7 separate regions of the Homo sapiens genome follow, and all the other regions are linked to region 3. Evidence: promoter capture Hi-C in human tissues and cell types (Jung and others, 2019). All regions are on one chromosome and are shown on one strand. Each heading gives the region's core, a stretch centred on a gene start or on the middle of the fragment in contact. The rest is flanking DNA. Distances are from core to core; before and after follow the strand shown. Region 1 holds the start of C20orf202 (chromosome 20 open reading frame 202). Region 2 holds the start of RBCK1 (RANBP2-type and C3HC4-type zinc finger containing 1). Region 3 holds the start of FAM110A (family with sequence similarity 110 member A). Region 4 overlaps CSNK2A1 (casein kinase 2 alpha 1). Region 5 overlaps SNPH (syntaphilin). Region 6 overlaps PSMF1 (proteasome inhibitor subunit 1). Region 7 overlaps PSMF1 (proteasome inhibitor subunit 1).

The links. The method cuts DNA at HindIII sites, captures the fragments that hold promoters and counts their contacts. A contact is called where the count stands out against the background at its distance.
Region 1: a contact is called between the fragment with the promoter of C20orf202 here and the fragment with the promoter of FAM110A in region 3, in 1 of the 25 tissues and cell types used here (dorsolateral prefrontal cortex).
Region 2: a contact is called between the fragment with the promoter of RBCK1 here and the fragment with the promoter of FAM110A in region 3, in 1 of the 25 tissues and cell types used here (aorta).
Region 4: a contact is called between a fragment that was not itself captured here and the fragment with the promoter of FAM110A in region 3, in 1 of the 25 tissues and cell types used here (stomach).
Region 5: a fragment that was not itself captured here is called in contact with the fragment with the promoter of FAM110A in region 3 in 1 of the 25 tissues and cell types used here (stomach).
Region 6: a fragment that was not itself captured here is called in contact with the fragment with the promoter of FAM110A in region 3 in 1 of the 25 tissues and cell types used here (dorsolateral prefrontal cortex).
Region 7: a contact is called between a fragment that was not itself captured here and the fragment with the promoter of FAM110A in region 3, in 2 of the 25 tissues and cell types used here (dorsolateral prefrontal cortex and lymphoblastoid cells).

The regions. Positions count from the first base shown.
Region 1 is chr20:1,201,850-1,205,268 of GRCh38, forward strand. C20orf202 (chromosome 20 open reading frame 202) reads left to right here and starts at 1,605. Exons shown (of 2, transcript NM_001394958.1): 1 at 1,605-1,802. The coding sequence starts at 1,737. The HindIII fragment of the contact is 15,218 bases long and covers 1-3,419 here.
Region 2 is chr20:406,833-410,541 of GRCh38, forward strand. RBCK1 (RANBP2-type and C3HC4-type zinc finger containing 1) reads left to right here and starts at 1,467. Exons shown (of 12, transcript NM_031229.4): 1 at 1,467-1,947; 2 at 3,049-3,193. The coding sequence starts at 1,926. RefSeq lists a silencer at 1,165-1,434 and enhancers at 1,412-2,054, 2,005-2,054, 2,055-2,695, 2,105-2,204, 2,265-2,364 and 1 more. The HindIII fragment of the contact is 18,382 bases long and covers 1-3,709 here.
Region 3 is chr20:831,603-835,097 of GRCh38, forward strand. FAM110A (family with sequence similarity 110 member A) reads left to right here and starts at 2,113. Exons shown (of 2, transcript NM_001042353.3): 1 at 2,113-2,349. RefSeq lists a silencer at 2,364-2,513. The HindIII fragment of the contact is 14,108 bases long and covers 1-3,495 here.
Region 4 is chr20:516,156-519,995 of GRCh38, forward strand. The region is part of intron 2 of CSNK2A1 (casein kinase 2 alpha 1); the gene reads right to left. Among named protein-coding and RNA genes, the nearest start is that of CSNK2A1, 26 kb to the right of the region's middle. The HindIII fragment of the contact is 4,623 bases long and covers 1-3,840 here.
Region 5 is chr20:1,273,699-1,277,374 of GRCh38, forward strand. All of the region lies in intron 2 of SNPH (syntaphilin), which reads left to right. Among named protein-coding and RNA genes, the nearest start is that of SNPH, 9.2 kb to the left of the region's middle. RefSeq lists a silencer at 2,173-2,373. The HindIII fragment of the contact is 3,510 bases long and covers 631-3,676 here.
Region 6 is chr20:1,166,940-1,170,355 of GRCh38, forward strand. PSMF1 (proteasome inhibitor subunit 1) reads left to right here. Exons shown (of 7, transcript NM_006814.5): 7 at 1-3,416. Among named protein-coding and RNA genes, the nearest start is that of TMEM74B, 16 kb to the right of the region's middle. The HindIII fragment of the contact is 6,488 bases long and covers 1-3,416 here.
Region 7 is chr20:1,149,625-1,153,078 of GRCh38, forward strand. All of the region lies in intron 4 of PSMF1 (proteasome inhibitor subunit 1), which reads left to right. Among named protein-coding and RNA genes, the nearest start is that of PSMF1, 33 kb to the left of the region's middle. The HindIII fragment of the contact is 7,151 bases long and covers 1-3,454 here.

The sequences.
Region 1 (3,419 bases), core at 355-2,854, 370 kb after region 3:
AGGCTGGTCTCGAACTCCTGGCCTCAGGTGATCCGCCCACCTCGGCCTCCCAAAGTGCTGGTATTACAGGCGTGAGCCATCACGCCTGCCCAATAAATTTATATTTTAAAAGACCTATGTGAGAATAGAGTCTACATATTTTCATCGTAGCATTAATTTGATTGTTTGTTTCCAATGACTACTAGGATGTCAGCTCCAGGAAAGCAGGGCCTTTGTTTCTCTGATTTTGGTTGATAACCCCAGTGTCTAGAGCAGAACTCGGCACACAGTAGACATTCAATAAGTGTTTAGCGAAAGAGAGAATTGAATACCTGCTTCACGGTGTGATGATGTCAGTGGCATTTGAACCAGAGTAACTCCATCTTGAATAGGGGCTGGGTAAAATGAGGATGAGACCCACTGGGCTGCATTCCCAGATGGTTAAGGCATTCTAAGTCACAGGATGAGATCAACACAAGATACAGGTCGTAAAGACCTTGCTGATAAAACAATTGCAGTAAAGAAAGTGGCTAAATCTCACCAAAACCAAGATGGCCACAAGAGTGACCTCTGGTCATCCTCACTGCTACACTCCCACCAGCGCCATGACAGGTTACAGATGCGATGACAACATCAGGAAGTTACCCTATATGGTCTAAAAAGGGGAGACATGAATAATCTACCCCTTGTTTAGCAGATCATCAAAAAATAACCATAAAAATGGGCAACCAGCAGCCCTCAAGGCTGCTTTATCTATGGAGTAGCCATTCTTTTATTCCTTTACTTTCCTAATAAACTTGCTTTCATTTTACTGTATGGACTCCCCCTGAATTCTTTATTGCATGAGATCCAAGAACCCTCCCTTGGGGTCTGGGTTGGGACCCCTTTCCTATAACAATGGGAAGAATAAATGGTGTGTCAGGACTGTGTTTGCCTGCAAGTAGCAGAGTGTTCCATTAGACATCGGGTCTGTTTTCTCATATAGATGCTGTTGCCGAGTCAGGGGTGCAATGATTTCTAATGGCTCTGTGATTTTCTTGGGCTTTGTCTTATGGTCGCAAGACAGTTACCATAGCTCCAGACATTACATCCACATTCAAGGCAGAAGGAAAAGGGAGAAAGTAGGAGTAAAAGGGAAGCAGCAGTGACATTTTCCCTTTTGTTAGGAAGGTAAAAGTTTTTCTGGAAGCCTAACAGCAAATTGCTGCTTTGATCTCATTTGCTGGAAATGGGTCACATGGGGATTCCAGAAACAAGGAAACTTGGAAAGTGAGCATTTCCTTTATCTGGACTCTATAGATAAGTAAATGAGGACAGGGACTTGGGACACCCGTGGAGGTATATGCCAAATGAGACATATACATAGTTTATATGTAAAGCACAAAGCAAACCCTTAGAAAAGAGTGCCTATTTTCATAATAACCATATTGTTGCCATTTAAAGCTTTGCATTCTCTGTGATCCTGTTGGCATCACATATTCTTGGCTTCTGGAACAGCAGGCTCCAAGGTACTCGGACCCATAATGGTCTCCCTCCCTTCCTCCTTGTTCTGTTCAGAGCACTAAAGCCCTTTAAAAAAAAAAAAAAAGCCAGATTACATTTTTCAATGTGAGCTACTTCCTGCTCTCATTAACTCCATCTTCAGTGATTTGGCCAGAACCTGCTGCCAGTCTGAAAGAGTTGGGGGAATGTACAAGTCAAAGATCCCTCGGGCCCAGAACCAGGTCAGTGTCAAGGTCACTCCTAAGAACACTGAGATGAAAATAGCAGAAGAGCCCAGCCCGAGTCTTGGGCAGACCTTGGAGTGGCTGAGAAAGGAGCTGGTAAGGTTTTGCATTGCTTTTCCTTGATGCCCCGACTACATATTTTCCAAAGATCTCTGGTTTTCCTTCCCGGGTCCCCCCTGGGGCAGAGGCTGCAGGCTACGGTATGGACCCTGCAGTCTCCCCTCTGGGACCTACCACACAATGCACAATTGTGATCTCAGGTTCAGGGATAAGTAGGTCGTGGCCTATATGGGAGGTGCTGGGTGTGGTGCTGGCCAGACTGGTTTTAGAATGACACTGAGTCCTCCGTGTGTGCTGAGTCCTCTGTGTGGCTCTAGCAGGGGATTTATCTCTTTGAGCCTCAGTTTCCTTATCACAAAATGGGAATAACAATAGTACCAATATCATATGGGGTATTGTAAGGATTCACTGAAGAGATGCTTGTAATCCTCTTAATGAATACTTGGCACCGTGGTGCTGGCTATTATAACCCTGACCCAGATGGACATGCGTACACCCAATGTCTTAGCCTGGGTCCCCTAGAAAGCAGAGGCTTGGACAAGGATTGAGAAACTAGCACTTTATTTGGAAGTACAAGCCAAGGGTGGTGATAGGGAGGAACATAGGGTGTGGCAGCAGAGGCCAATGCTATGCCAGGCAATTACGCCAGACATTGTATTACCAAGCAGCCTACGGCTTCAGAAGTTGCCTTAAGGAGGCCCAGTGGGTGTCTCAGCAGCTGAGATGCTCTGCAGGGGTTGAAGGAGGAACTGCACATTGGGGGAGAGAGAACGAGAGGAAATTCATCTGCCCAGCTCGTTCCTGTCTCTCATTTCCCATTGGCAAGGGCCTCCCCCATGGAGCACTAACTCTCCTGACCCGATGTTATGTTACTTGGTCCTGTGGTTGCTGCTCAGGAAGCCAGGCTTATGCCTTTCATTATGGTATTTTCTCCAAGTCCGAAAAAAGAGGGGTGCCCCCAAGTGTGTGGGGACACCAGCCAGGAGAGAGGAGGCAGCTCAGGGAACCTCAGAAGAGGTTTGTTTCTCAATATACACACCTCTCATCCTGGGGAGAGACAGACAGGATTGTCCAAAAATGACCTTTCTGGGTTGCCAGGCAACAGGCCAGCTGGGACCCAACCCTGTCATCACCCCAGAGGAAGGGCTGACCCAGTAGGGTTTCTCATGGGACCAGGGAATTCCAGCAGCAGGGACTGCAGCTTCCCACAGTCAGCAGGCATCCAGCACTGGGCAGCTGTCTTCCTTATGCTCCCTGAAACTGTGGGTGCCTGGATGCCTCATCACCACCTCCGTGCTGGGAACCCCACTGTGGTCTTGTAGGCGCATACCCAGAAATATGTGCAGGAGGAAAACCCTAAAATCGAGAAAACACAGAGTGAATGTTTTCTGAGGAATTAGGAAAAAATGGGCCCAGGACCACTCGCTCTGCAGCCTGAGTCGTCCCAGTGTTCTGAGGGAGGCCGACTACACCTTTGCTTCACGTCTTTCCTTTTTTTTTTTTTTTTTGAGATGAAGCCTCACTCTGTCGCCCAGGCTGGAGTGTAGTGGCACGATCTCGGCTCACTACAACCTCCGCCTCCTGGGTTCAAGTGATTCCCCTGCCTCGGCCTCCCTAGTAGCTGGGATTACAGGCGCATGCCACCACGGCTGG
Region 2 (3,709 bases), core at 217-2,716, 430 kb before region 3:
GGTTCATTCCTTCATTCAACATATGGAGCCTCCATTATGTGTTTGGAACTGTTCTAGACACCAGGAACACAGCAGTGAGCAAAACAAACCAAAGTCCCTGCCCTCTAGGAGAGGAAAACAGACCCAGAATAACATAAATAAGTAAAACATGCTCCGTTAGACAGTAATAGATGCTGAGAAGAAAAAATGAAGCCAGGAAAGCGGATGTGAAATGCTGGATACGTGTGTCTGTGAAATTTCAGATGGAGTAACTAGGGAAGATTTTTGGGTAAAGACCAAAATAAAGGGAAGGAGGGAGCCATGCAGACGTTTGGGTTATGGCAGGTGCAAAGGCCTTAGGGCGGGAGTGTGTCTGACTTACTCCAGGACCCAGCAGGTCAATGGGACTTGAGTGGAATGAGGCAGGGGCAGGGCAGTCAGCTACGAAGACAGAGATCGGGAGGCAATTTGCGAGCCCTGGGACAGATCTCGGATTTTGCTTTAAGTGAGATGGGAGTACTTGGGTCGGGGAGTGGCATGGGTTTGATTTACATTTTAACAGGACTCTCCGGCAGCTAGGTGGAAATGGACGGTAGGGGGCAAAAAGAGAAGCAAGGAGGCCCAGGAGGAGGCTGGTTCAAGACCCCTGAGATGATGGAGCACTGATGGAGCTGGAGCGGGATGGGGCCGGAGGAGGTGAGGGATGAGATTCTGCAAGTGGAGCCCGCAGGATCTGCTGATCGATGGGACGAGGAACGGGAGAAAAATTAAAGCGGCGCATGAGGCAGACGAATGCAAACTTCACCAATAGCTCAACGAAAAGACAGACGGTGACCGCTGAGAGGCAGCGTCGGATCTGGGTAAGGGCGGGTTCCTGAGCCTGCCAGGCCTGGATTCAAACCTCGGCTGAGTGGCCTTGGACAGGTCATCAACAAACAGAGCCTTCGTTTATTCATGTGCAAACGGGGCCAAGGACCGGGCCTGCCCCGAGGTATGCCTGAGGCTTGGGTGAGCAGGCGCCGGGCTCGCAGGGCGCGCTCCTAACCCGTCCCCAGCGGCTCGACGCTGTGGATCCCGCCGCCCTCCAGCCCCGGCTCCGGCGCCGACTCCTGCTCAGGCTCCTGCTCCTGCCCCCGGCCCCGCCCCCGGCCCCGGCCCCGGCCCCCGGCCCACCCCGGCCCCGCCCCCAGCCCCCGGCCCCCCCGGCCCCGCCCCCGGCCCCGCCCCGGCCCCGCCCACCCCGCCTGCGGCCCAGCTCCTTCCCGCGGCTCTGCGATGCGGCCCGCAGGGTGACCCGGGCGGGAGTCCGGGGACCCGCGATCAGCCCCGGAGGACGGGGTGGGGTCGCCCCAAACAGGAGCGCCGGGACCGCTGGGACCCCGCACTCGGCGTCCGCCGCCGCCGGGTAGCCGGGCAGTGGAGGTCCCGGATGAGGCGACAATTTTTCCGGCCCCCCCTCCCAGTCCCGCCCCACTTCCGGGGCCGCCACTTTCACTTTCTCTTCCGCCGAAGCCGCTCCCCTTGCGAAGAACTGGGGCCTCCCGGGAGGAGAGAGGGCTTTGCCTTGAAACCCGGGACGCCAGGGGCGCTCCCGCAAGTGGGGGTCCTCCGGGACTTGGAACGCCCCGGCTGGGTGGTGTCCGGGCGTCCTTTCCCCGCTTCTTCCCACCTCGGCTGGTCCCGTTTCCTCCTGCGCCCAGTGCGGACCTGTCTCGGCGCCCGCTGCCCTCTCACCGCCCCACGCAGGATCCCGGCCTGGTCACCGGGCAGTGTGATGCTTCCCGACTGCCGCGGGGACAGCGAGGCACACACAGGGCTTGGGCCGCGCCGGAGGCCACACGGCCTGGCTGAGTTGCTCCTGGTCTCCCGCCTCTCCCAGGCGACCCGGAGGTAGCATTTCCCAGGAGGCACGGTCCCCCCCAGGGGGATGGGCACAGCCACGCCAGATGGACGAGAAGACCAAGAAAGGTGGGCACAGGCTGGAGGTGGCTGGGGAACTTCCGGTGGGAAGTGGGCCCCGCAGGACCTGGCCTTGCCCCTGGCCAGAAGGGCCTTGGAGAGGGGGCTTTAGCCTGCCCTCCCTCTACCCTCCTCCCCATCAGTTTCCTCCTTTGGTACCTGCTGGCTTCCAGAGCCATCTTGGGGCCCTGAGAACTCCTTGGGCTGGCTCTGTGCTGAGATGGGGCTAGGGGACTCGCAGAGGACACAGGGCATTGAACTTGGAGACCTCCTGGGCTGGTGGGAGACAGACGTCAGTTGACCTGAGAAGCAGGGGTACTTGCCTCTTCTCTTGTCCCCTGCACCTAGGGTTGTAGAACGGAAGTCAGTCACTGCCTTGCTGGAAACCCTCCCATGCCCCTCTGTGTTCTCCAAACAAAACCCAGAGGCCCTGGGTGGCCCACAGGATATCTGTCCTCAGTCACCCCGCCATGCTCACTCTACTGGAGCCCCACTGGCTTCCTTCGGTTCTCATCCAACCATTTTTTGGCCAAGGCCCTTACTCTTCCTTCCACCTGGACCACTCTTCCCCACTGGAGCTTGACACGTGCAGCTTCTCCTCCTTCAGGTCTTAGCTTCAGTGTTACCCCCTCCCAGAGGCCTCCCCTGGTCTCCTTAACCTGTTTATTTCCCTGCCAGCAAGGATCGCAATCTGACTTTTTTTTTTTTTCTTGTTAAACTTGTTCATTGTCTCCCCACTGGGCAGGGAGATCCATAAGGAGAGGGGCCCTGTTTATAAATCTCTGTGGGATTCCAGTTCCTGGGACAGTGGGTGGCACACAGTAGAAGCTCAATAACTGCTTGTTGGATAAATGAATAGAAATATGAGGGACCCTGGGAATGGGAAGGACAAACAACCAAATGAGCCTAGTGTGAGGAGGAGTGGGGAATATTAGAGAACCCCTCCCGGAGAAAGGGACTTTTAGTCTGGGTGCTGAAGGATACGTAGGAGTTCACCAGGAAGACAGAGAAAGCAGCACACACAAAGGATCGCCTCCTTTCCTACCCCATTACTCTCAGCTCCTGAAAATAAACCCTGTGCTAACTGGCTCCTGCTGTACTGGCTTTCAGCAGAGGAAATGGCCCTGAGCCTCACCCGAGCAGTGGCGGGCGGGGATGAACAGGTGGCAATGAAGTGTGCCATCTGGCTGGCAGAGCAACGGGTGCCCCTGAGTGTGCAACTGAAGCCTGAGGTCTCCCCAACGCAGGACATCAGGTGAGGAGTGCATGGCTGGCCTGAACCCAAGGGACAGCAGGACAGGATATTCTTGCCTGTAGAACAGTTCTTCCTAATGGCACGTTCTGGCTTCAGGAGGCCTGGCTTCTAACCCTAGTTATGTCATTAATCAACTGTGAAATACAGAGCAGGTCACTTCACCTCTCAGTGTGTCCTCATTTTAAAAATCAGACCGTAACAGTAGCTATCTCATAGGGTTGTTAGGAGGTGTACTGTATTAGGATGTTAGGCCTTATACAACAGAAGAAAACGGAACAGTGACGTAAACAAATTTGATGGCAGGGAGTCCAGATAGGGAGGTTCTGCTCCCGACAGTCCTCAGAGGCTCATATTGTTTCTCTCACCATTCTGCCATTCATTCCCAGATTCCTCATGGTGCAAAATGGCCATTCCAGCTCCATCCAGCCATCACATCACAGGAGGAAGGGAAGAAAGACACCCCTCCACACTCTTCTAAAGAGCATAGCTCAAAAATTGTACACACTTCTTCCGTTA
Region 3 (3,495 bases), core at 863-3,362:
GACTCCCTGTTTATGACAGTGGTTGGCTCTGATTTGGTTGGTGTCCATGCCAGAGTGTACAATCATTATTAGCTATTGATATATTATTAGCTCCCTCCCCTGCCCACCCAGGGGTTTACGCAGTAAGTTCTCAATTATTGGCAATCCAAACAAAGAATAAAAGACACCAGCTGGAATGAAACAGAGAAGCTGGTTCCAAATTGAGCAATTCAGACTGACTGCTATAAAATTTCCTCACCTTAAAGGCCCTTAGAGTTAATTCATTCTAATCCCCCTAAAAATATACTTTTTTGACATGTTCAAGTATTGGAAATTTGGAAAATTCACAAAAACACAAAGAAGAAATTAACTGCTGTGATTATAGATGATTATACACATATACATATGTATTTAATACATATTTATGCTGTACATAGTGTTTTGAAGCATACTGTACTTCAAAAAAATTTGGGAGGGGTGCATTGGCTTATGCCTGTAATCCTAGAAATTCAGGAGGCCAAAGCAGGAGGATCACTTGAGGCCAGGAGTTCTAGACTGGCCTGGGGCAACATAGCGAGACCCGTAGCTTGACATGGTGATGCGGGCCTGTAGTCTTAGTTACTCTGGAGGCTGAGGTGTGAGGATTGCTTCAACCTAGGTTACAGTGAGCTATGATTGCACCACTGCACTCCACCCTGGGCAACAGAGCTAGACCCTGTCTCTAAAAAACATAAATAAACCAATGTTTAATACTTAGCATTTCCCCCTATCTTTAAATATCTTCTAGCTACTTCACTTTTATTTTTATCTTTTTGAGATGATCTCTTGCCCAGGTTGGGGTGCAGTGGCATGATCTCAGCTTACTGCATCCCCCACATCCCAGGTTCAATCTATTCTCCTGCCTCAGCCTCCTGAGTAGCTGGGATTACAGGCATGTGGCACCACGCCTGGCTAATTTTTGTATTTTTAGTAGAGACGAGGTTTCACCACGTTGGCCAGGCTGGTCTTGAACTCCTGACTTCAGGTGATCTGGTCGCCTCAGCCTCCCAAAGTGCTGGGATTACAGGTGTGAGCCACTGCTCCTGGTAGCTACTTCACTTTTAATGGCTGCATAATATTCCTCATCAGAAAGTGGGAAAAATTAGGCTAGGTGGCGTGGCTCATGCCTGTAATCCTAGTACTTTGGGAGGCTGAGTTGGTAGAATTGCTAGAGCTCAGGAGTTTAAGATCAGTCTGGGCAACATGGCAAAACCCCATCCCTACAAAAAATACAGAAAATACCGGGTGTGGTGGTGCACACCTGTAGTCCCAGCTACTTGGGAGGCTGAGGTGGGAAGATTGCTTGACCCCAGGAGATTGAGGCTGCTGTGAGCTGAGATCCTGCCACTGCACTCCAGCCTGGGCGACAGAGTGAGACTCCATCTCAAAAAAAAAAAAAAAAAAAGAAAAGAAAAAGATAAAGAAATAAATAAAGTGTTAATAATTAAAAGTACTTTTAGAGGGTTATGTCATAAGCCTTGACAAGACTTGTTCTGTAAAGCTACCCGGCATGCAAAAAGCTCAATTAAGTTAGCTCCTCCACAGGATGGAATTATATAACCAATCCCTTTCAAGAGGCATTGAAGTTGTTTCCATTATTTTGCTATGATGAATAAGGCTGAGCAATATTAATCTTTGCTCATATCTTTGGTCATTTCCTTTGTAAATTTCGGGACTGCTGGGTATGCACATTTTAAAATTAACTCACTCATCATCATGCAGTTAGGAGAACAGAGAAAGGAAGGGGCTTGCACCGGGTCACATAGGGAGTTAGCGTCAAAGTCAGGACTAGGAACCAGCCAGGGCCCTCTAACTGGAGCTCTTCCAGCTGGGGTCCTAGAGGAAGTCCCAGCTGGCCGCGGGAGGGAGGAGGAGGAAGGGAAAGAACCAGGCGCCGGGGCTGAAGCGGCGGCAGGAAGAAGGTGGGGCCGGCTGGGAGGAGCGGGCGGAGCTGCTGAGCAGCGCCTCTCCTTCGGGCGGGGGAAGCTAAGCGGTCGCCTGGCAACCCTGGCGGCGCGCCGTTCGAACGGAAGCGAGGAACCAATCAGGAAGTCCGGGGCGAACCATTCTGGTGTGAAGGGGGGCGGCGTGCTCACTTCCCCTTCCACGGCGCCCCAGGGACTTTCCCTGCGGTGGGGGCCTTCGACAGTGAGGGCCACCCGCTCAGCTCGACCGCGGAGGGCAGCTCCAAAGGGGACCCCAAAGGTGCCCACGCGGGGCTGGGGCCTCCTGGGCGTCGTTGGGAGCGGCCACTACCGGCCCGGGTCCGAGCTGTCAGCCTCTCCAAAGCCTGCGCGAGAGGAGCCGGGACACGCCTAGCGCGGGCTCCAGGTGAGGGCGCGGGTGGGTCCGGGTGCGACCCCGGGTCTGGGGGCCCCGTTCCCCGAGCGTCTGCTGTCTGCTTTCTCCCCGCGTCGTACCTGCGTGTCATTTCACAGATGAGGACTCTGAGGCTCAGAGAGGCAAGTGTCCCGGCCCGGCGAGCTCTGGCGGAGAATCCAGTTCAAGTCTTTCTGCCCCACCTCGCAGCCCCCTAGTCTAGTCACATCTGGACTTGCCTTGAGAGGCCCAGACGGGCAACTGGTAGTCATTTTCCCAGCGTTTTATCGGCAGGGACCTGTAGACCCCTGGCTGGATCACATATCCCCGCGCCCCACACTGTCCTCGGGATACCCCCTTTGGGCGTCTGTCTTTCCTTCTCCGCAGTCCGGGGTTGGACTCGGCTCATTTGGCGCCTTTCTGTCTACGGGGACAGAGGACCACTCTTTGGGGATCGGACGGGACTGACATTTCTGGGCTGGATGCAGGGGCAGCAGATTCTCCAGCCCCCAGAGCCGCTGCTGGCCTCTTGGGAATCATCCCCAGTTTGGGGAAGGGAATAGAGCCAGTCCCTAAACCAAAGCCACTAGTCACCAGAGACTTTGGAATTGGGAGTGGGGCCGGAATCCCCCCAGGTGGAGCAGCTGACCTAGGCCAGACCCTGCTGTGTCTCCTGGGGACACCCCCTGCCCCCTAGGTTGCTATTGTCAGTCTCCTTTTGTAGGTGGGGAAACGGAGGTTCTAAGAAGTTAAGCCCCTTTTCGAAGTCACAGTCAGACAATGCAGTGGTTAGCTCCTAGTCCCTCTGGCTTCAATCTTAGAATCCTTGACACACAGAATCATGCATTTTGAGAGTCTTCAATCTCTTCATAAGGGAGTTACATATCCTCTCTCCTCTGGAGCCTGCCCCTGGCTTTGGGGGACAGGATCTCCGAGGACTCAGAAAGAAAACAAGGCTTTCTTTTATTCTTTCAACAAATATTATTTATTGACTTCATAAGCCCTGCTCTGGTTCTTGCATGTTTTGGTTTTTTTACTTATTAGCAAATGTATCATCTTCTCCCACTGTGATGCAAGGCAGGGGCTGAGGCAATTGAGCCAGTGCAAAATTTAGGGATGCCCAAAACCTCAGTAATCAAGACTGAAACTAACGTTCAT
Region 4 (3,840 bases), core at 764-3,263, 320 kb before region 3:
AACAAAATGCACTGCCTTTCTTATTAAGTTCCATTTTAAATTGTCTTACTTAGTGCTTACTGTTCTCATGTAATTGCATAAAAGGAGGTGTAACTTTAGTGGCTAACCATTTCAGACCACTACATCTACCTTAACACCGTCAGAATGACTTTGAAGACATGGCTAGGTCTTGTATGCTCAACGTTTAGCCTAACAGAAGCCAATTAATCAGCTACGAAAAAAGTATCATGTCAATGAATTTTTCCCGACTGAAGTAAGATCACATCGAAGCCAACTGCATGGGTCTGCATGACCTATTCTTTAATAAAGTATAAGTAAATAAAAAGAAAATGCCATTAAACCATAAGGAAAAATTGTCCATTGCCAAAATCATAAGTTTACTGATATACACTGAATACAGCAGAATTAATTTCAATAAAAACTCCTCTTGCCCTTAGCTAGTCCCTCCTTCTAATCTCTTATGTTCAGTTGTTATTTTTCAATTTGGCAACTAAAAAGAAAACTAGAGGCTTAGTAACAGTCCAATACCAGAAAACTATACAAACAAGTTTGCTTAGTCATTTCTGCTAATGTATTTTTATTGATGAATTTCCTAGTATCAGAAATGGAAAAGATCATTCTAGAACTTTAAGTCAATTTTTGAACTGTAATATAATTAGTTCTTTTTAACCCTAATGTTTATTAGTCTCCATCTTAAAAGGAAAAAAAAAATCTCCTTCTCATCCCTAAATGAACCATAGCAAATGAACAAGATCTCATCATCATCCCGACAGGACAAAGATTTCTATAGCAAAGAATGAGGAATGTGCTTAGATTGCACTGACTGCATGGTTTAGGACTGCTTGTTTAGAGGAAAAGCAGCTATACAGGAAGACACCTTTTATGCACTGCTGCAGAGAATGAACTCTTTTTCCAAGCAATCAGGCAACATAAACTGGTAAGAGACAAACAAGACTTGTGGAACTCAGCGAGACCTTAAATATGTATACTTTTCTACCTTGCTACAGAAGCAAAGAGAAAAATTCAGTCAAACTTGCCCATTTCCCTTTACAAAAGGGGCACTGATTAGAAGGCCAACTTAATACAAAAAAGCACAAGTAGCTAATGTTACCTGAATTACTTATTTCAAATGTCCATACTTAACCTTAATTTCTTTCTTCCTTTCCAATCAAGAGCAGAATGCTCATACATCAAGCATTTACTGAACGTTTACTATGTACCAGGAAATGTGTGCCTGACTGCCAGAAAGGCATTCTTTCTCTTGGTCCTGGAGAAAGTATCTCTGCCCTCAGACAAAGAAAACAGACCATTACAATCTCAAGTGATCAGTGCTTGAAACAATTAAGTCATGGTGGTGTACAGACGTTGAAGGGTATTTAAACTATCACCAACCCATCATTCATTCAACAAATATTTATGGAGTACCTAAAATGGGGAAAAACTGTAAGAGAAAAAAAAAACTGCACTTAAAGTACGCACAGGAATTATTCAGATGGAAAACATTAAAACAAGAAATTGCAAAGCGTAACACTTTAAAGCAAGTTAAGAATTTTAAAGACCTATAATTTTGCACCCTAAAATGACCAAAGGCTGGCACATTTTGTTATCTTCTATAAGAAACACATCATTGGATGCCACATGCAACGTGGCATCAGGTGTAAAAAAGCACCTGATGTGCTTTTTTTGCACATCAGGTCAGCAACCTTTTTATATCTGATTTGGAGACTATTAGTTTACTCGACTGTTACCATTTTGTGCTTAAAACAAACAGTATCATTAATTCACAAGCTTTGGAATTCTTTCTCTTTATTTTCTTTTCTCTACTTCCAACACTAATCAGTTCCTTGTTGCCCAAGCTGGAGTGCAGTGGCACAATCGTAGCTCACTGCCACTTCAAATTCCTGGGCTCAAGTAATCCTCCCACCTCAGCCTCCCAAGTAACTGAGGCTACAGGCATGTGTCACCACACCTGGCCCACTCATCTTTAAATAAGACAGAGAAGTAATTATAGCCAAAAGGGAATAGAAAATGCAAACCCAGAGATATAAGCAAGCAAGGAAGCCTGGAAAGCCTTTGTTGATCCTGAAAATTAGAATTTTGTTCTCACATAAACCAAAGCCCAGGGCTCTCACAAGACAAAAAGTCTAATAGGAGGCCCTCTTCATAAGGTGGGACTTCAGAGGCATACTTCCTAATGGTGAGAGTGACTAGGGAGTGGAAGATCCAGGGAGGAATTAAAGCCCTACTGAAGGGAATATCATATCTTAAGCTTGTTTTAAGGTGGTCTCTGGATTAGTGCCCATGCATACCTGATATAAGCAAGCTCTCCATGGAGGAAAGTACCTTACTGTGGGCCTCAAATGATCACTACAAATATCTATTTTTATTTTTATTATTTTTTATTTTTTTGAGACAGAGTCTCGCTCTGTCACCCAGGCTGGAGTACAGTGGCCTGATCTCAGCTCACTGCAAGCTCTGCTTCCTGGGTTCACGCCATTCTCCTGCCTCAGCCTCCCGAGTAGCTGGGACTACAGGAGTCCGCCACCACGCCCGGCTAATTTTTTTTTTTTTTTTTTTTTTAAGTAAAGACGGGGTTTCACCGTGTTAGCCAGGACGGTCTCGATCTCCTGACCTCGTGATCCACCCGCCTTGGCCTCCCAAAGTGCTGGGATTACAGGTGTGAGCCACCGCACCCAGCCAATTATTTATTTTTAAATACAATGTCCTAGCAGATCTCAAAAAACAAGAGGAAAAATATAGTGAAATCGTTGGATATACTTTTTTTTTTTTTTTTTTTTGCCACAAAGTCTTGTTCTGCCACCCAGGTTAGAGTGCAGTGGCACGATCTCAGTTCATTGCAACCTCTGCCTCCCAGGTTCAAGTGATTCTCCTGCCTCAGCCTCCAGAGTAGCTGGGACTACAGGTGCATGCCACCATGCCCGGCTAATTTTTGTATTTTTAGTAGTGAGGGGGTTTTGCCATGTTTTGGCCAGGCTGGTCTTGAACTTCTGACCTCAAGTGACCCGCCCATCTTGGCCTCCCAAAGTGCTGTGATTATAGGCGTAAGCCACCGTGCCCAGCCAGTTTGATATACTTTTAATTGGTACTAGCAGAAAAGAGAATGGGATAAAGGCAGTAACTGAAGACAGTTGAAAATATCCCAGAAGCAATCAGACACAATCAAATTCCAGAAGCAAACAATTTCCAAACAAGATCAATAAAAAGAAATCCAAAACCAAACATATAATTACAAAATAGCAGGAAAAAACAAAGATGAGTTGGGTGTAATGGCACAGGCCTATAGTCCCAGCTATTTGGGAGGCTGATACAGGAAGATTGCTTGTGCCCAGGAGTTGGAGGCCAGCCTGGGCAAAACAGCAAGACCTTGTCTCAAACAAAAACAAAAAACTAAAGACAAGCAAGTACAGAAAAAGGCAGATTATATTCAAAGAGCAACATTAGAACAGCTGATTTTTCAAAACCAACAATGAAGCCAAGTAGTTTAATACCTGCAGTGTGCTGAAAAAAATAAATAGCCGCCAAATTAAAATTCTGTTATCAAGCAAATGTCTCTAAAGAAAAAAGAAAAATAATCCCATTTTGGAAGGTCTGAGTTGAAAGAAAAAATAAAGAGCAAAAAAGAGGAAAATTTACAGACAGCTCCAAACAAACACTGATTATACAAAAGAATAACAATACCTTGAGGAGCTTTAAAACATAGAATACATAACAATAAAAACACAGTGTATTGAGGAGATTTCAAAGTATTCTTTCTAAAGGTCTTTTATTATATGAAAAGAAGATAAAATTATAATATCAGGTTTTGCTAAGTTATAGCTG
Region 5 (3,676 bases), core at 1,136-3,635, 440 kb after region 3:
TGTGCCTGCCACACAGTGATATAGCTGCATTATTCGTAGCCTGGAAAATTGGGCAGATGCAGAAGAAAGGCAACGTAAAGATGGGACGGAGAAAAAAAGAAGCAGTCAACCAATCCGGGCCCACTTAGCATATGTTATCCTTGTTTTATAGAGAAAGACACTGAGACTCAGAGAGGGGAGGAAATTTGTTCAAGGTTACACAGCGGCTGTGTAGCAGAGCCTACACTTAGATGCCAGTCTCTTTGGCATCAGAGCTGCGTTCTTCCCTCTAAGCCATACTGCCTCTAAAGAAGTGATCGGTGAACAAAAAATAAATAACTACCATTTGTTGAACACACACAACAGGTGAGGCACTGTGCTGCTTGCTAAGATAGGAAGTTTTTTAATAGTTGAGGAAACTAGGACCACTAGAAAGAAGAAACTGGCCCAAAGTTATATAAGCACAAGTGGTGGGGTGGGGACTCTGACACAGGTATACAGGATGTAGCTTCCCGCACCGTAGTGACAGGATAGCAGTTTTCAGGGGTAAAGGTATTCAAAGTGCAGGCATGGGAGAGAGTGTGGGCTTCTGCATGCCCTGAGAGATAGATACCAGACCAGTCCTTGCAAGTGCCAGCAAGGAAGGCAAATTTTGGCTCAGTTCAAGGGATGAAAGGGAGAAAATTCTAAAAAAAAAAAAATCTAGTAACAAAACAATGTGTTTTGAGAGCTGGCACCTCATCTCTGGGCTGCTCACATAGGGCTGGATGTTCTAGGAGGAATTCTTGCCATAGGATGGAGTTTGGAAAGGCTGTGCTTGACAGCTGTAACCCAGAAGATCTGGAATCCTAGTATAGGGCTGGTCACAGATGAGGCAAGCAGTGGGTGCTGCTGGCATTCCCAGGAGAAAGAATAGCTGTAGGTTGAGACTATCTGAGAAGGCTTCCCGGAGGAAGAGGAGGAACTAGAAAGGATCTAAAGGCTGGCACTCGGGAAGGGAGCGGAAGAGGACTGTGTAAGGACTGTGAGTCTGAGGACACTGAGCTCTCTAGTCTGGCTAGGCCATCGGTCTGGTGCCCTTCAGCAAAGGGCAGCTCCCTGTCCTTTCTGGCTTTTAAAATGGTGGAAGCAGAGGTACAGTAAATCCTGGGTCCTGCGTCTTTCCCAAAGCCTCATTAGGCAGCCAGTTTGGCACCACCTCCCCCGTCTTGCTTCCCACACATCCCCTCTGTATGCATTGTAAGATTCGCCTCCCTTCCAGCCTCCCTTTCAGAAGTGGCGGACTTTGGACGTGCAGCCCCAGAGGGAGAAGGGGTGCGCTAAACATCACCTCTTCTGTGAGGCAAGTGTCATGAGGCAAACTACGTCTTCTGGCAGTGGCCACCTGCCTCACTTTTGGGGCTCAGAGCCAAAGGGGGAGGAGCCACAGCTCCATCCATTTAAGCCACCCTGGGCCTTCTGGGAGCCACTCGCTTCCTCAGAGCCAGGCCTGGCTCATTTCCAGTTCTGCCACTTGTTAGCCTGGGACTTCAGACAAATTGTGTTACCCCCTGGGCCATTTTCTCATCTGCCAAAGAGAAATCGATTATTCCTGCCTGAGAGGAGACGGGATGATCTGTTGTGGTCCCCTGTGGGAAAGAGCCTGGTATATAGCAGATGTCCCCACGAACACTGCTTCCTCCTGTCTCTATGGGCCTCGATTGCTTTTCTGACCCTCTAAGTCCCGACTCTTGTCCAGGTTAATGAAAACAGCTACACTACATGTCGGGCACAGGGGATATGTGACCTTATAGCATCTTCCTGACAGCCCAGGTAAGGAAAGCATTATTATAGAAAAGGAAGCTGAGTTATAGGAAATTTAAGCAATTTGTCCATGGCCCACAGCTGTTACATGGTGGCTGAGCTACCAAATACCTGATTCCAGGGCCCAAACTCTCCCTGCCCCTCATTTTGCTTTCTCATTCTCTTCCTCTCCCCATTTCTGTTCTCTTAGGCCTGTGAATGGGCATTCCTTCCTCCTCAAAGCTTAGCTGGGCTCTTACACCAAGGTTGCTAGCCCTGGACCTGATAGGAGTGAGGTGGTCTAAGAGCTAGAGAAGGACATTTTGATAGTTTATGACTTCAGAAAAGTCCCTGAGTGACCCTTGGACGTGTTCTACCCCAAGTCAGCAGTATTTCCTCCCTGCCATTCCTTTCTACCTCAATTACTTTTACTTGCCCTGTTTCCTCTGCCTGAAATTTTCTTCCTACTACTACTGCTATCTCCTCATGTTCAGATCTGTCTCAAGGCCCAGCTCAAACACTGTCTTTCAGGGGACCCACTTCCAACTCCCACAGCTCCTTCACAGAGCCCAGGCTCTTAGTCACCAGCCTAAGCTCTGTGCTCTCAGAGGATGGAGAGGACCTGACCCCTCCACACCCTCCTGTTCCCTGACTGCAGAGACCAGCCCTCCCTGGGTGGCACGCAGGGCCCAGATTGGAGCTGTAGACCATTTGAGCCAACTGTCTGTGGCTTCCTTCTGGAGAGCCCCTTCCCCCTCCACAGGAGGGGGGCTCCTCACTCTGGGGCCGTGTGTTTGAGAGAGAAGCCCTCAGAGGTTGTTAGGCCTGGTAGAGGTCAGTTTTGTAAGGAATCCCTGAGGCCAGCCATCCAGATGAAAAAGCCCAGGATCCAAGCCTAGGCAGCACTGGCCCCCTTGCCCTGCTCTCTGAGTGGTTGGGAACAGAGAGCGCAGGTTGGAGTTGGATACACTTGGACTGCTGTCTCCGTCTCTGCCGTGGACTGACTTTGTGACTGGGCAAGTCACTTAATTTATCTGACCCTTAGTACCTCAATAGTAAAAATGGGCATCATAATCATAACGTAGGCCTCCTGACAGCAAAGCTGGCATGAGAATTAAACTAGATTAGAAATCTTCTATGTGTAAAGCCCCTACCTAGCCCAGGGGCTTTATTTATTAAACACAGTAGGTGCTTAATAAATGCCAGTACCCTTTCATCCGTGTTGTATAGGAATCACTTTATAACTTCCCTACTTTCCCAAAGTGCCAACACATCTTCATTTGGCAGTGAGCTCCCTCCTCACTGGAGGTATTCAAACTGGGTCCGGGTGACTGCAGAACAGGAATGTTATTCCGAGAAACAGAACTTCAGTCAGATGGATGTTGGGCTTTGAAACCTTCAGATTCTTTCCTGTCCAGAATTTTTGCGATTCTGTGAAGACTTGACTCAGATCTCGTTGGTCAATTATTAGAAATCAGTTGGGGTTCGGCTTGGATGTCTGTTTTGCACAGATAAAAGACAGACTTCTGCTGGAGTTGTGAACTAATTGAAGGCTTTCTCCCAAGAGGTGGCAAGGGTAGAAACAAAATCAGGCCCAGGAGGAAGGACTCCAAGGGATCCTGGAAAGGGAATCTGGCTGGGATATTAGGGGCATGTGGCGAAATGTTTAGGTTGAATTTGGGGAAGGCTATACCACGGCTGCTAGAAATAATTTCCTGGGGCAAGGATTGTTTGATTTGTCTCTGAACCCCCGTACCCAGCACAAACCAGGTACACAGAAACATTCTAGAAAAATGTTGAGTAAATGACAAGAAGCTTTGGTGTCCCTATCAGATGGAATCCTGGGTTGAGGGACTCCTTGGGACTAGAGGCCATGTGGGAGTTTCATACTCTGTGTGTGTATGTGTATGTGCCT
Region 6 (3,416 bases), core at 17-2,516, 330 kb after region 3:
TGTGAGGAAAAGATAAAATTTAAACAATAAATTTGCCACTTAGATTTTCTAGCAGCAAAGTCCGAAAAGATAGTTATATACAAAATTCTGTTTTCTGAAAACAAAATTGTGATTCACCTTCAGAATTGGCCATTTTTTTTGTGAGTTTCCTTGCATCAAGGACACTGAGAAACACAGTCATTGTCTTAGGTGTTCTATGGGAGGAAGTGAATAGAGCCTTTAGGAACTTCCTGGTCAAGCTTATGGTGCTTATTTTGATCTGGGCCACTTCCCTCCTTCCAGTCATGAGTAATCATCAAGGAGCAAGTTGGAGTGTTTCAGGTGTATATTTTGTAGAACCCAAAAGATTGGAGCCTTAACAATAAACATCAGCACTAAGTGACCTGTTCCTCCTTTTTTAAATAGCAGCTTTATTGAGATATAATTTACATACCCATAATTTACATACCTGTTTAAAGTATACAATTCAGTGGATTTAGTATGTTCACAGTGTTGCACATCCACCACCATTTCTAATTCCTGAACATTTTCACCACCTCAAAAAGAAACCACACACCCATTGGCATGACTCCCCATTCCCTTGCTCCCAGCCCCAGGCAACCACTAACATCTGTCTCTAAAGATTTTTTTTTTTTTTCTGGACAGTTCTCATAAGTGGAATCACTCAGTATTATGGCCTTTTGTGTCTGGCTTCTTTCATTTCATGTGATGTTTTCAAGATTCATTCATGCTGTAGCATGTATCCATGGTATGGATATATCACATTTTGCTTATCCTTTTATCAGTTGATGGACAGTTGGGTTGTTTCTACAAAAAGGCTATTATGAGTAATGCAGCCAAGAACATTTGTGTACCAGTTTTTGAGTTTTCAGTTGTTTGAGTTTCAGATGTTTTCAGTTCATTTGGGTATATACCAAGGAGTGGAATTGCTGGTTCACATGGTAGCTCTATATTCTACTTTGTGAGGAATTGTCAGACTGTTTTCCACGGAAGCTGCACCATTTTACATTTCCACTGGTAATTTATGAGGGTTCCAGTTTCCCCACATCTTCACCAACTCTTGTTATTTTTCATGCTTATGGCCATCCTAGTTAGCGTGAAGTAGCATCTCATTGTGGTCTTCTCTTCCATTTTTTAAAAAAGAATTTTGACCTACACCAAGCAAGGCAGAGACCAGAGTCAGTCCCCCTTGGGGAGCAATCTGTGGTTTTGATAATCACCACCTTGGGATGAACATGGCTGGTGAGCTGCAGAGCAGTTGATTTGACTTTTGGGGATGGTTCTAGGCTGGATGTGATACAGGGCAGGTTTTGTCTCTAGAGAAAGTTCTCATGACCTTCAGGTCTAATGAGATTCAGATCATCACTTTGGTTTGGTTTGAAATTTCTTTGTTTATCCAGTGAATTACAAGTAGAATAAAGATCTGGTTCTAAATTGTCTTTTGGTGGTGAAGTGCCATAGACCATTTCGGACCATTTCTATGATGTACCAGCAGCCCCCACATCACACCTCCTCTTCCTTGGCTTGTCTCTTCCCCAATTCTTAGAGTTAGCAGTGTTTCTTACTGCATTCATCTCCTCAGTCATAAGTGTCTGTCAACCTCCGTTGTGAAGTCATGAGTCTCTTGAGACTGAAACTCCAAGAATGTATTGTGCTCACAGTGGCGATGGTGTTCCTGTGCTGGATGGTCAGTGGTTGTTGACATGTAGTTAGAAAATAGGTAGCAAGTTCCACGCAGCCTCACTCTTTGGAACCTAGTTTCTCCTATGGCCTCCCTTTCTACTGTTGTTAATAACATTCTATTAATGATCCATGCCTCTCTTCACAGGAGGAATATTAGAATCTATGGAGCAGTTAGTATTCTTTGTCACCTAAATTTGTCTACTTCTGTACATTTCCAATAAGGCACCACCAGGGCAAGGGAAGATTCCCCACATGTATATCCCCAGCTGTTTCTGTCATAAAACTTGCATGTGTATAAACCACTATTGACTTTTTGCACCAAAGGAGATATTCAAGGACAGACATCCAAGTCCCCAGCCCTTTATTGCCCTTGGGATACCACAAGGCACAGATACAGGCAGCTGCTGTGTGGCTCTGGAGTTCCTAATCCCCAGATTGTAGCAATGATGATGTGATCCTGCTGCTCTCTGGACCGTAACCTTTTTGGTTACAAAAGGTAAATTTCTGTTTACTGCATCTGAACCCCAGGACTAATGCGTCACTGCATTAACCCCAGGACACATGGACCAAGTCACTGCGGCCGTACTTGGCCCTGAATCTGTCCTGGAGGGTGGGTCAAAAGGCAAGGGTGGCAGGTAGGATGGTAGGCAGTGAGGGGTGGCAAGGCCTAGCTGACTGAGGACAGACCCAGCAACAATGACAGGAGGTTTGAACACCTCACGAGTGGTAGTGCCCATGGGAGGTGCGAAGTGGAAGGCCCAGCCCTTGCTTGGAGGAACGTGAGGCTGATGGTGCAGTGCAATAGAGGTCACTGGATGCCCATTTGAACAGCTGCGTTCCAGATGAGCCACCTAAGGTGGATGTTGTGAGAGTCACAGTGGGTTTAGAGGGACAAGGTAGTGAGAGGATGCTGCTGACGCATTAGTCCTGGGATTCAGCTGCAGTAAACAGAAATTTACCTTTTGTAACCAAAAAGGTAATGGTCCAGAGAGCAGCAGGATCACATCATCATTGCTACAATCTGGGGATTAGGAACTCCAGAGCCACACAGCAGCTGCCTATATCTGCACCAAAAAGTAGATGTCCTTCACACTGCCATCTGGACACCACTCAGCTAGCTCATCCAAGTTCAAGGCTCAATTGAATGCGTCTGGTTGTTGGAACCTACATGGCCTCTCAAATGGTACTGGCATGGAATATTGGGGAGATGTCTTTATTCCCTCTTCCCACCTTTCCTGGAAGGTGCACTGGGACAGAGGTCTAGTGAGCCAATCTTCTGTGTTGTCTACGCCATGGACCATGATATAAATGGGTACCACAGCCTTGCATGCCTGAGCCTAACCATCTCCTGAGATGCTTGCTCTAAGTACACATTAGTACATGCTGGGCCCCAATCTAGATCTCAAGGGAACGGCCTTCAGATCCATTTTTGACAAGTTCCTTTTGTGAGTCCTATGATCATGCAAGTTTGAGAACTGAGAAGGGAGGGGAAGACCTACCTCCTTGTTACTCAGACCACCAGCAACAGCAGCATCACCTGGGAACCTGTTACACATGCAGAATCTCAAGCCCCACCCCAGACATTGAATGAGAATCTGCATTTTAACAAGTTCTCCATGAGATTTGTGTAAACTTAAAGTGAGAGAAGCTCACATGGACTATGTCTTTTTCCTTTACGTGAATATCGAGTACAAAGAATTGAGCCAGTCAGTCCTCTTGGTTAATGGCACATT
Region 7 (3,454 bases), core at 952-3,451, 320 kb after region 3:
AAAACAAAAAACAAAAAACTGTTTTCTTTGAAAAAATGACTGCTTCAGCCAGCAGCTTGAACAACTGCACAAGTACTTTTCATCATGACAACATTGTGCCTCTGTGTGCAGTAGAAGTGCTTTATGCAAGGCCAGGTGTGGTGGCCCACACCTGTAATCCCAGCACTTCAGGAGACTGAGACAAGTGAATTGCTTGAGCCTAGAAGTTTGAGACCAGCCTGGGCAACATGGTGAAACTCTGTCTCTATAAATTAGCTGGATGTGGTGGCGTGACCCTGGAGTCCCAACTACTTGAGAGGCTGAGGTGGGAGGATTGCTTGAGCCCAGGAGGTGGAGGTTGTGGTGAGCCATGATCACACCACTGTACTCCAGCCTGGGCAACATGGTGAAACTCTGTCTCTATAAATTAGCTGGATGTGGTGGTGTGACCCTGGAGTCCCAACTACTTGAGAGGCTGAGGTGGGAGGATTGCTTGAGCCCAGGAGGTGGAGGTTGTGGTGAGCCATGATCACACTACTGTACTCCAGCCTGGGCAACAGAGCAAGACCCTGTCTCAAAAAAAAAAAAAAAAGTGCTTTATGCCCGTTTCCCACTTCACGCAGAATATTAAAAAGACATATTCAAAGATTGAAATTTTACAAAACTTGACAATCTATACCTCTTCATCAAGTACATTCTAAAGTGAAGCTGGATGTGGGTGAGTGAGTGGTAAGGGAGGGTGCAATAACGGCCAGGTTAGTGCTGCTGCTTTGAGTCATACTATGGCATCAGCAGTTCCACCCACTGTTGCTTTTGCACCGTCAGTGCAAATGTCAACACAGCAAAAAAAAAGCAAATAGCTTCTGAGATAGAATAGTTTTGACCTCATGGGACAGGAGTCCATGAGCCACATTAAAATTTTTTTTTTCTCGAAGTTTACTAGCCATTTGGATTTCATCTTTTGTGAAGAGGTAATCAAATCTCTTGTTCATTTTTCTATTGGCTTGTCTTTTTATGACTTGTTGGCATTGTTTATATAATATATTCTGAATTTAAGTCCTTCATTAAATATATGTATTACAAATGTCTTCCTCCCCTCTGTAGCTTGCCCTTTTACCCTATTAATGGTTTTTTTTAATTATTGTTAAAGCATTCCTAATTTTTATGTAATCTAGCTTATCAGTGCTTTTCCCTTTATGTTTGGTGCTCTTTTGATTTTTGTTTAAGAAGTCTTTGCCTTATGCCAAGGTCATGGAGAAATCCTCATATATTTTCTCCTAGAAGCTTTAATGGTTTACCTTTTATGTTTAGATCTATAATCCATCTAAAATATTTTTTATGTGTGGTGTGAGATTTATATTTTTCCACATTGATATCCAGTTGGTCTAGCACCATATTTTGAAAAGATTATCCTCTACCTATGTTACTTTAATAATTTAATTTTCATTTTTCATTACTTGTGCAACTATTCTCTATTCTTAAAATTTGTTTTCATTCCTTTCGCCTTGGAGTCACATAATATCCCTTTGGTTTTTTCCTGTGGATAGCAAAGTTCAATAACATTTATACAGCTACTGTTTATTCAGTGCCATTGATTCTAGACAAATGCTGGGCATTTAATCCATGTGCTCTTATTTAATCCCCTCAACAATTCCATGAGATTGGTAAGGGCTATCCCCATTTTGCAGGTAAGGAAGCTGAAGTTCATGTACAGTAAGTAACTTCACAACAGTAAGAAGCAAAAGTTGTGTTATAATAGTAAATTATTGAATTCTACTTATGGGACTCAGGCACTACACTTTTGTAAGCATTCTCATTTAATATGTATAACAACCCTGTGAAATAGATACTATTGTCTGTATTTTACACAAGAGAAAGCTAGAGCTTGGAGATTTTCTAACTTGCCCTGGGTCACACATCTGTGAAATGGTGAGGCCAGAATTTGGACTTGAGTCTTATGCCCAAATCAATCTAAGTGTCCATCATGTGCCACTTACTGGGAATATGTCATGAGGTGTGGACCCAGCCTTCAAGGAGCTCACAGTTGATAGGGGCTAATTGCCCTTTTCATTCCAGATCATAAATCTTTTTAAAACAATGGTAGAAGTATGTCTGAGATCTGCTGAAGCACATTAAAGAGTGATTAATCTGAAGGATAGAAGGAAAGTTTTCAGAGAGATGATGCCTGATGAGCTAAATTTTAAAGGACCAATAAAAGTTCTGTGGTATTGAGGGTAATTGACTTTTATGGCAGAGGGAACGATGGGTACCAGTGGGGCTATGAAATCATCTTGTAGAAGTGGGGGAGTTTTTGTTTCACTCATGTCAGCATGTGAAGGGAGAAAAGATGAACATGAGGGCCAAATCACAAGGCCAGTATGTGCTAAGAAGCTGGATTTGATCCATGGGGTGATGGGAGCCATCAATGTTTTGAAAAGTTACGTGGTTGGGACTCGGTTAACCACGGATTTTTTTTTTTCCTCTTGAAGAATCCCAGTCATATTCTGACAGTGGACGTGTTAACATGGTTAATATTTATTGAGCTTTTACTGTGGGCTGAGCAGTTACATTAAATGTAAAGTATATGTAAAACAATATCTTTTAAGCCTCATAAGAGAATGAGGTAGATGCTCTTGGTATCTCTGTTTTATGCAAAAGAAAACTGAGGCAGCAAGAGCTTGACTTGCCCAAAGCAACACATCTTATGAGCATTGGAGCAGGATTCAGCCCTTAGTATTTCCAACTTTTGACACATGTATTGGCAGTTGTTTCAGAAGAAATGAGTTTGGCTTGGATTGCTCCAAGAACAAAGAAATGAACTTGGCTTGGATTGCTCCAAATACTGGTTTGAACACAGTACAGCAGTGGAGCAGAAACAGAGGAGATGACACCATGGGGTAAGCACAGTCCGATGCATATAACCCATGGGGCCAAGATCAGGAGAATGGGAAGCCACTGGACAGGTTTTACAAGGGAGGGACTTCATATTGTTTACATTAAAAAACAAAATAACCCTCTGGCTCCTTTGTAGAGATGGATTATAGAGGGACAAGAGTAAAAACAGACCCAGAGAAGAAGCTGACACAGGCAGCCAGGCAAGAAATAATGGTGGTAGGTGGTAGACTATGGTGGTATATAAGGCAGGTGGCTCTGGGGTATATTTGGAAGTATACCTGACAGGACTTGCTGATGGGTTGGCTTAATGAAGGGAAGAAAACTCAAGGACAATGCAAGTTCTTTTTTTAGCCTGTCATTTCTGATTTGGGACTGCCATAACTAATGCTTCAGTAGACATACTTTTATGCAACTTGGAGCACGTCTCTGAATGTTTCCTTAGAATAGATTCCTATAGAATTACTACATTAAGGACCAAGCCTGTTTATAGAGATTTTGATACAGATTGCTCAGTTGCCCTTTTTCTAAACAGTTGTGTTAATTGACATTCTCACTATGTTTCAATGTCATTTCCCTATCC